2 separate regions of the Homo sapiens genome follow, and region 1 is linked to region 2. Evidence: promoter capture Hi-C in 16 types of primary human blood cells and fetal thymus (Javierre and others, 2016). All regions are on one chromosome and are shown on one strand. Each heading gives the region's core, a stretch centred on a gene start or on the middle of the fragment in contact. The rest is flanking DNA. Distances are from core to core; before and after follow the strand shown. Region 1 overlaps MORC1 (MORC family CW-type zinc finger 1). Region 2 holds the start of MORC1-AS1 (MORC1 antisense RNA 1).

Region 1 (4,140 bases), core at 893-3,392, 77 kb before region 2:
CTAAAAGTTCGGCAAGCCTTCTTTGTTATGCATTTACTGCTAAAACAATCAATGTGGGAATTGCCAGATTATACTATTTCATTTCTGTCTGTATGTGTGTCCACATGAGCACTGAAGAAGAACAGAATTCTATTGCTGGAGTTTCTTCTCACCAGGCATGAAGTCTTATAAATGCTATATATTTGATGGGATGACTATGAACATGACGAATGAAATCCAAATGCAGTCTCTGTACTCCAATCCAAATACAACAGTTTATTGTGACCAGGTATAAGAACATTTTGGTCTTCAGTAATATATGCAGAAGTTGGTCAGCCTAACCTATGTAGAGTCAACCAATCCAATCAAATATAAAATATTCACCTTTCAGGAATTCTGCATAAATCAAATTATTCTTTCCATCCTTCATTGTTTGCTAAATACCTATTACATGAAAGCTGCAGGCCTAGGTACTATTGGGAATGCAAAGATGAAGAGAAATAGTCCTTTATTTCAAAAAGCATATAGTCTGATATGGCAGACAGATGAGACACATAAGTAACTATAATATTAGACATAAAGTGACTATAATACCAGGTAGAAGTAAAACATGCTCTAAGAAAAACCACATGGGACAAAGGGAACTGGAAGGAAGAAGGTACTTTTCTAAGTAGGTAAATGAAAGATACTTTTCTAAGTAGGTAAATGAAGGAGATACTTTTCCAAGTAGGTAAATGAAATGAAGGAGATACTTTTCTAAGTAGGTAAATCATACAGGGATTGGCAATAGTTTTGGATCTTGAAGGACTGGAGAAGGACCAGAGGCTGCTCCAGACAAGAATGCACAAACAAAGGCCTGCAGAGCCACATGGAAGTGAACACTTGTAAGAAATATGGAGAAGCTCAGTAGCAGCACCATACAGAGTGAAAGAAACGAATGCTATTATATTAATAGAAAGGCAACTAGTGTCAGATTATAGACAGCCTGGGCTGTAGGCCAAGAAATGTATAGTAAATACAAAAGATTAATTCAGAAAGACCTAGGGGACACATAAGCAATTCATCACACATTGCAGAAATATATTGATTATGCAAATACACTACTCATTAACATTACTTAGGTATAAAGGGGTAAATATAGGGTAGCTTAATTCAGGGAGAAAGGTATGATCTGTCTTTTAATGATTGAGGGTATTAAGTGGATTTTAGATGGTACCATAAAATCCTGAATAAAGTGTAACTAAAACTAGATTCTGTGTGCATGATAATGACACAATCATCCTTGTCACACAATAGAAGGTAGAAGAGAAATTTTAAGTTAAATCTGAGAAAGAGGCAAATTTGAGAACGGAGAGGTCCTGAAATACAGAGAAATTTATTTTATAACATTATGGTTTTTAAATTATTGCCTAGGTTTACCAAAAAATAACAATTATCCAGCTAATATGCCAATTACAACTGAGCAATCCAGTGAAACAATAGAAATAAAAGCTTCATCACTTGGCCAGCAGGTGGCACTTGTCACTCGGTATAGAAAACAGCAGGTAATGTGGAATGAAGCTGAAAGTAGTTAGAAACAGATTACTTATTCATCTATTCAAAAGGATAAAGATGGGGATGGGTTGTATTCAGAAGCACAATTTATAACAAGGATCTTGGCTTGTTGACATAGCTTATCAATTACATGGAGGACAACCCCTTTAGTCTATAAAATGCACCACAGGTGACAGATCTTGAATTTGAGCTCTCCTATTAGGTTTACTGAACTTAGGTATTTCCCTTAACAAATATGATTTGCAATATATAAGTTTGTTGCTACTGTAAATGTTCTTATGTCCTTTTTGTCTGTATTTTTCCTATAAGACTGCGAGAAATATGGTGCTGGAATTGGGCAAAAAGGAAATAAATTCCAACTTCACCATTTAAAGTTACGTGCTTTGATTAAAATTATTTTTAACTTTTTTGGATTTCACTTTCCTCTTTGTTAAAATAGATATAACTAGCTGGAATGTTGTAGGAATTAAATAAGATACCATGTGGAAACGATACCTTTAGATCTAGCTACTTCATTTTCTCCTATGGGACAACATCTAATAATTAGGATAACTCTCTTACCATCTAATCATTAGATACCCATAGAACCTAAAATCCAGAAAGATTTTTGATTTACCTGGTCAACCTTTCATTTTCCAGATCAAGATGCCTGCTACCATTAAAGCTGAAATGCAAGAGAGTTAAGAGATAGGGTGTGCAGGTTTAGGTCATTTTTATATTCACTACACAGGTCTGGTCAATGGATAAGTGGTCATTGGGAGTGGGATGGAGGAAGAGAAAACAGGAGGTGGGCAAATAATAATTACATGGCATATATTGTATGATTCTGTGATACTGAATGGGTGAATGGACACCAAAAATAGACATACAGTGAATCATAGTAATAAACTAGCCAGTTCTTGATTTTTTCAGTGATGTCTAGCCTATATTTGAAACTGAATGGGGCCAATGATGGCCTGTTTTTCTAGCTTTCCCATCCTTTCTTATCTCACATTCCAAAACTACTTCTAAAGGGTTTTAGAATGAGGACAGGAAATTTACACTGAACATTGCATGGTTTTTAGTCTTAGTTTTGACATCAGATAAATATCACCAAAACATAGTTTCTGAACATGTTCATGGATTATTTTTGTGAAAGGAGGAATCAAGGTCATCTTTCAGAGGTCTTCTGTTCAGTAATTACCATATTATAACTATATGGGAGTTGCATCATTGTAACAAGTCACACCATTTTTAAAAGAGAGATGCCACACAAATACTGAGTTTAATTTTTAAAATATGAAAGCTTAACATGTAATTTAAGTGACTGGTTCCATGAAAGAACAAATCAGTGTTCAGCTCCAAGTGTTCCTTTAGGTTGTTTTTCTCACCTGAAATGCCCTATCCTTTTCCCTCTATTTATCCTAAATAGACTTCAAGATACAAGTATCACTTCCCCTATATAACTTTCTTTGGTTTCTTTTTCTTTTTTCTTTTTTTTTTTTTTTTTTTTTTTTTTGAGACAGAGTCTCATCTTTCCCCCAGGCTGGAATGCAGTGGCGTGGGCTCACTGCAACTTCTGCCTCCCAGGTTCAAAGGATTCTCCCACCTCAGCCTCTGAAGTAGCTGGGATTACAGGCGTGAGCCACCACACCCAGCTAATTTTTTGTATTTTCTGTAGAGATGATGTTTCACCATGTTGGCCAGGCTGGTCTCAAACTCCTGACCTCAAGTGATCTGCCCATCTCAGCCTCCCAAAGTGCTGGGATTACAGGTGTGAGCCACCATGCCCAACACCCCTATATAACTTTCTTTGATTGAAGCTGCCCTCACTATCTCCTGCAGTAAACTTCTATTGCAGTGTCAGTTACAATAAGAAAACACATGTGAATTAATATTACTTTATAGTGGTTGCTCATTTTTAAATAGCTGTTAGACTTGATCCACAAAAAGACTGTATAATATCTGACGGCATGTTTTACTTATTGATTCAACTACCTATTGAGTACCTGGTATATGCCAGGCACTGTTTTGGTTAATACAGATTCACAGTAAGTAAAACCAACACTACCCCTGCTCTCACAGAACTTACATTTTGGTATTACAGATACTCTGTATTTCCCATAATTCCCAGCCTGGGACAGACCTGAGGGCAAGTATGTGCTCAATGATCACCTCAAAATTAACTGGTTGCCTTTGGTTCAGTGAACCACAACCCAAAGCTTTCCTTGGTTACCACAAAAGCAGGGTCAGTTACAAGCCCTGAGTACCAGAAAGTATGTAAAAGATGTTAGGAATCTTTTCACAAAAAGATTTTGTAAAATCTTCCTTTTGCAAAAGGAAAAAGGAGGATGGAGTGGATTCTTATGTCCTTTGAAGTACTGGCAGTGAATTTCTATATAAGTACTGCTAAATTTCTTTGTTTACATTTGAAACAAACTGGATCTATAACCTTGGCTTAAATCTTATGAAAAAAAATCAACTACCAACAAAAAAGAATAAACAGAACTGTTGGCCCAAATCTGCTATTCCACCAGCTGCCATCAGATTCTCTACCTCAATGATGAACACAACATCCAATTCTAAACAAACAACAAGCTAATTAAGTCTTGATGATTGGCATTATTA
Region 2 (4,091 bases), core at 683-3,182:
CAGGCAGACTGTTATCACCGTGTACTGTAACAGGATGTTCTTTCCAACACTCTGTTCTGCTGACCCGTCATCAAGAGGGTACAATTTTTTTTTTTTCAAAGTAAAGCAGAAGAATTTGAACTAAGCCAGCTCCACACTCTTGCTTGAGGTTTGGCTGCAGGGGAAAGGGTCCATTCAGGGCTCAAAAGAACAATCATCTGTCTCAGGTAGGAGCCGTACAAGTGAGCCTCATGTCCTGACCTTTCAATGCAGCATACTAAAACAAAGAGCTGCAGACACAGCACCTAGGTTAAAATATGCTTTGGGAAACAACAGAACATAGAGATGCAACAAAGCACTAAAGTACAGGGGTACCGCTTCAGGAATCTTTGAAAGAGGATTTATTTTATTATTTGGGAGAATTAACCTAAAATGTTGTAAAGATAAAAGTCAGTTATGGGCCGGGCGTGGTGGCTCATGCCTGTAATTCCAGTACTTTGGGAGGCCGAGGCGGGCTGATTACTTGAGGTCAGGAGTTCGAGACTAGCCTGGCCAACATGGTGAAACTCTGTCTCTACAAAAATACAAAAATTAGCTGAGCATGGTGGCTCATGCCTGTAATCCCAGCTGCCCAGGAGGCTGAGGCAGGAGAATCACTTGAACCCAGGAGGCGGAGGTTGCAGTGAGCCAAGATCGCACCACTGCACTCCAGCCAGGGTGACAGAGTGAGAATCTGTCTCAAAAAAAAAAAGTCAGTTTTGTATATGGAGATTCCAACACAAAGTAGGTCACCCCTGCCTCAAGTTTATATATTTTTTAAAGCTTTACATGCCTGCATCATTCTGTGTAAATTGCTTTATAAACAGTGTTCCCAGTATCAATAATATATGTCTTAAGGGAAAAAAAATTCTCACCTTTTAAGACCATTGCCGTATTGCCCTATGAACTTCAAGGTTGACAGCCGTTTTTTGGATCGTCCAAAGTAAATGATGTCTGAAGCTTCCTCTGTAATTGACAGTGACTTTTAAGGTGGTTAGGAAGACTCTTTGACACTGGCCTGAGGCCCAGCTGTCAGGACCTCACATTCCTCAGAACATCAGGACAAACCCATAGCTCTTGGGTCAGCCCAGAGACAAGGATTTTCATCAGAATCCACAGTCTCTGACAAGGGTCTTAATGGTATTACAGTCAGCCCAAGGTACGGCAGGCTCCACATTCATAGACTCAACTAATCTTGGACTGAAAATATTCAGAAAAAAATAAATTGCGTCTGGACTGACCACGTACAGACTTTTTTTTTGTCATTATTCTCTAAACAACAAAGTATAACAACTATTTAATAGCATTTACACTGCATTGGGTATTATAAGGAACCTGGAAAAGATTTAAAGTATACAGGAGGATATATATAGGTTATACGGAAATACCGTGCCATCTTCTTTCCACAGCTTTTGGTATCCTAGAAAGGTCCTGGAATCCATTCCCTACAGATACTAAGAAACAACTGTATACTGAAAGAGATGAGACAGACCTAACCATGTGGCCTTAGGTAGAGTTTAAAAGTCTGAGCCTTAATTTCCATGTGGTGTAAGAGGCAACTACGTAATACTTATATCACGGTGTTGCTGATGAAGATAAATGAAACAAATGAAATGAGATGATGTATTTGTGAAATCCTGAACACAAAACTTGGCACTTGGTGGGTGTTACCAAATTACAAGTGTTATAATTACTTGTACCACTAGTAATTTCCCCACGAATTTAGCCCTTAACCAGGCCCATGTGAGACTAAGAGGGGCAGGATGACCTCTGCTCTGATACTACCTGGGAAAGAAGGCTAACCATTTCAGACGTTCCAAATCATTCTCCCGACCTCTCCAGGTATTCTGGAATTCTAGACAGTAATCCTCTGGACTTCAGAATATATTAATACCAATCTCCAGAACCAAGAATGTTCTTCTTGTTGGCCTACCTGAATACATGCTGAAGAATTGTCCTGAGGACCCTCTGTCAGTCTGGGTACAGATATGCTATAGTTCAGTGGCACATGGTATGAGGTGTGTAAAAGCCACCAAACATTCTGCTTCTCTGAAACTAACTGGACCTCCTATGATATGTTCCTATGAGGGGTTAGGCATTAGGTAAGGATATCCATAATGACAATCTTAGCTAACACTTATTGATTGTTTAGTATATGCTAGGTACTATGTTTATACTTACATGCACAGCTTATTTAATATTTATAACAAAACAAGAAAGGTATTATTACTATGACCTGCATGTCACAGATGAGCAAATGTAAGTCTAAGGAGTTTTAAAAACCTGCCCAAGGTCACAGAGCTGATAGAGGGTACAGCTAGGATTATAACCCAAAGTTCTAAGTCTTGGTACAGACATGGTATAGCTCTGAACCAAATCCCATGTGTTCATTACACACTACATGAACTCACGTGCATGGTTACCCGGTTCTGAGCATGGGAATAAACCACTGAACAGGCCAGGCATGGCTCCTGCCTTGGACAACACTATGTCATGGTAGGAGAAACAGATTGAAAGTAAACTAATAAATAAGATCATTTCTGACTGAGTATTAAGTGAAGAAAACAAAACCAGGGTAATGCGATAGAGAATTAACAGGAACGTGGCCTGCAGACAGAATGATCAGGGAAGGCCACTGGCAGATGGTTAACATGAGATGGATTCAAACGATGAGGGGTCAGCCATGTGTGGGTGGAGTGTTCTAAGGGAGGAAGTGGGAAGAACAAGAAAAGGCCAAAGAGGTGCATAGGGCCAAATAATGTAAGGTCTTGGAAGAGATGCTGAGAGTACAAATTGTATTAAGTAATGGAAAACCACTGAGGGTTTTCAGCAGGAAAATGATATTAATGTACATTTTCAGCAGGAAAATGTACATTAAAAGAAAGAAAATCACTCAGGATGCTGTGTGGGGAATGGACTATAAAGGGGCAAGACTAGAGAATTTTTTAAAAACCCGGAAAGTACTGTAGTCATTTTCTATGGGTCAAGATTGATCTAGCTCCGTTTGAACAACGGATAGATTCTACTTTTAGTCATCTTCCTTCTACTTTATTACTAGTTGATGCTACTATGTAACTGAAGTGTGAGTTCCTTCTGAAGGTCTGAATATCCGTCACTTGTCTGTGTTTCAAACATTTTGTTCATGACCCATATAAAAAGAGTTGCTTCTTTTCATAAGGAATTCCCTTAGAATATATCACATATATTCTGTCATTTATTTTAGGAATTCAAAAAAATGAACTTAATATTCAGGCTAGAAGTGAAAAATTACTTTTTTCAGCATGGGTTTTTTCTGTTGTTGTTACAAACTCTTCTTTCTCATTTAAACAATAAAAGACCAAGAATACTTTTAATCAAAATGACCTGGAAAAATCAAAATTATCCGAAGTCAGAACAAAACTGGGTGAAACAGTCTTTCTAAACTTGCTAATACTCTTCAACTATTCAGACCAAGGGGAAACTTCAGAGCTGAAATAAGATATTTGCCATACCTCATATCTTCAGCTTCTATCAGCAAATCAATATTTGAGCATACTGATGCATCCTTTCCTCAGTTGTGGAACTGACCATGGCAGTTCCATATTACTGAACTCTCACCATTTTTTAAATCTAGTGGTCAAAAACCCTGGCTTGTGGAACACACCATGTTTAAAGAATTCAGAAATACAATACCTAAAACAACCCAATGCCCTCAGATGGAATCACATTTCAATTTCACAGCACACAGACACTGTATACCCATAATGTGCTGGCTTTGTGCTAACCTTGAATACACAAAGATAAGTCATGAAATATATTGTAGATGTATTCTTTATGATGGGAACATTCATTTGAAGCAAGTAAAGCTTTCAAAATGCAGAGGAAAAAACAAGGCTAAAAACAAGGAGAGGAAACCTCTACCTCGAGGTTAAGCAAAATTAAAAATAGCCTACAGGCACAGGAAACTGCCTGGGGCTCTCACAAGCAATACCTAAAGGATGAGCTAAAAACAATCTCAGAGTCTATTCAGTGACTATTTGTTTTCCATTCATTCCCAGATGCTTATTTCTTACAATCAGTAACATTTGCCTTTC

Evidence for each region. The method cuts DNA at HindIII sites, captures the fragments that hold promoters and counts their contacts. A CHiCAGO score of 5 or more calls a contact.
Region 1: a contact is called between a fragment that was not itself captured here and the fragment with the promoter of MORC1-AS1 in region 2, in 1 of 17 cell types (M2 macrophages). The highest score is 5.8, in M2 macrophages.

What each region holds. Positions count from the first base shown.
Region 1 is chr3:109,022,375-109,026,514 of GRCh38, forward strand. The region is part of intron 17 of MORC1 (MORC family CW-type zinc finger 1); the gene reads right to left. Among named protein-coding and RNA genes, the nearest start is that of GUCA1C, 71 kb to the left of the region's middle. The HindIII fragment of the contact is 1,348 bases long and covers 1,469-2,816 here.
Region 2 is chr3:109,099,524-109,103,614 of GRCh38, forward strand. It overlaps MORC1-AS1 (MORC1 antisense RNA 1), which reads left to right and starts at 1,933. Exons shown (of 3, transcript NR_144461.1): 1 at 1,933-2,036. It overlaps MORC1 (MORC family CW-type zinc finger 1), which reads right to left. Exons shown (of 28, transcript NM_014429.4): 5 at 894-984. The HindIII fragment of the contact is 2,885 bases long and covers 977-3,861 here.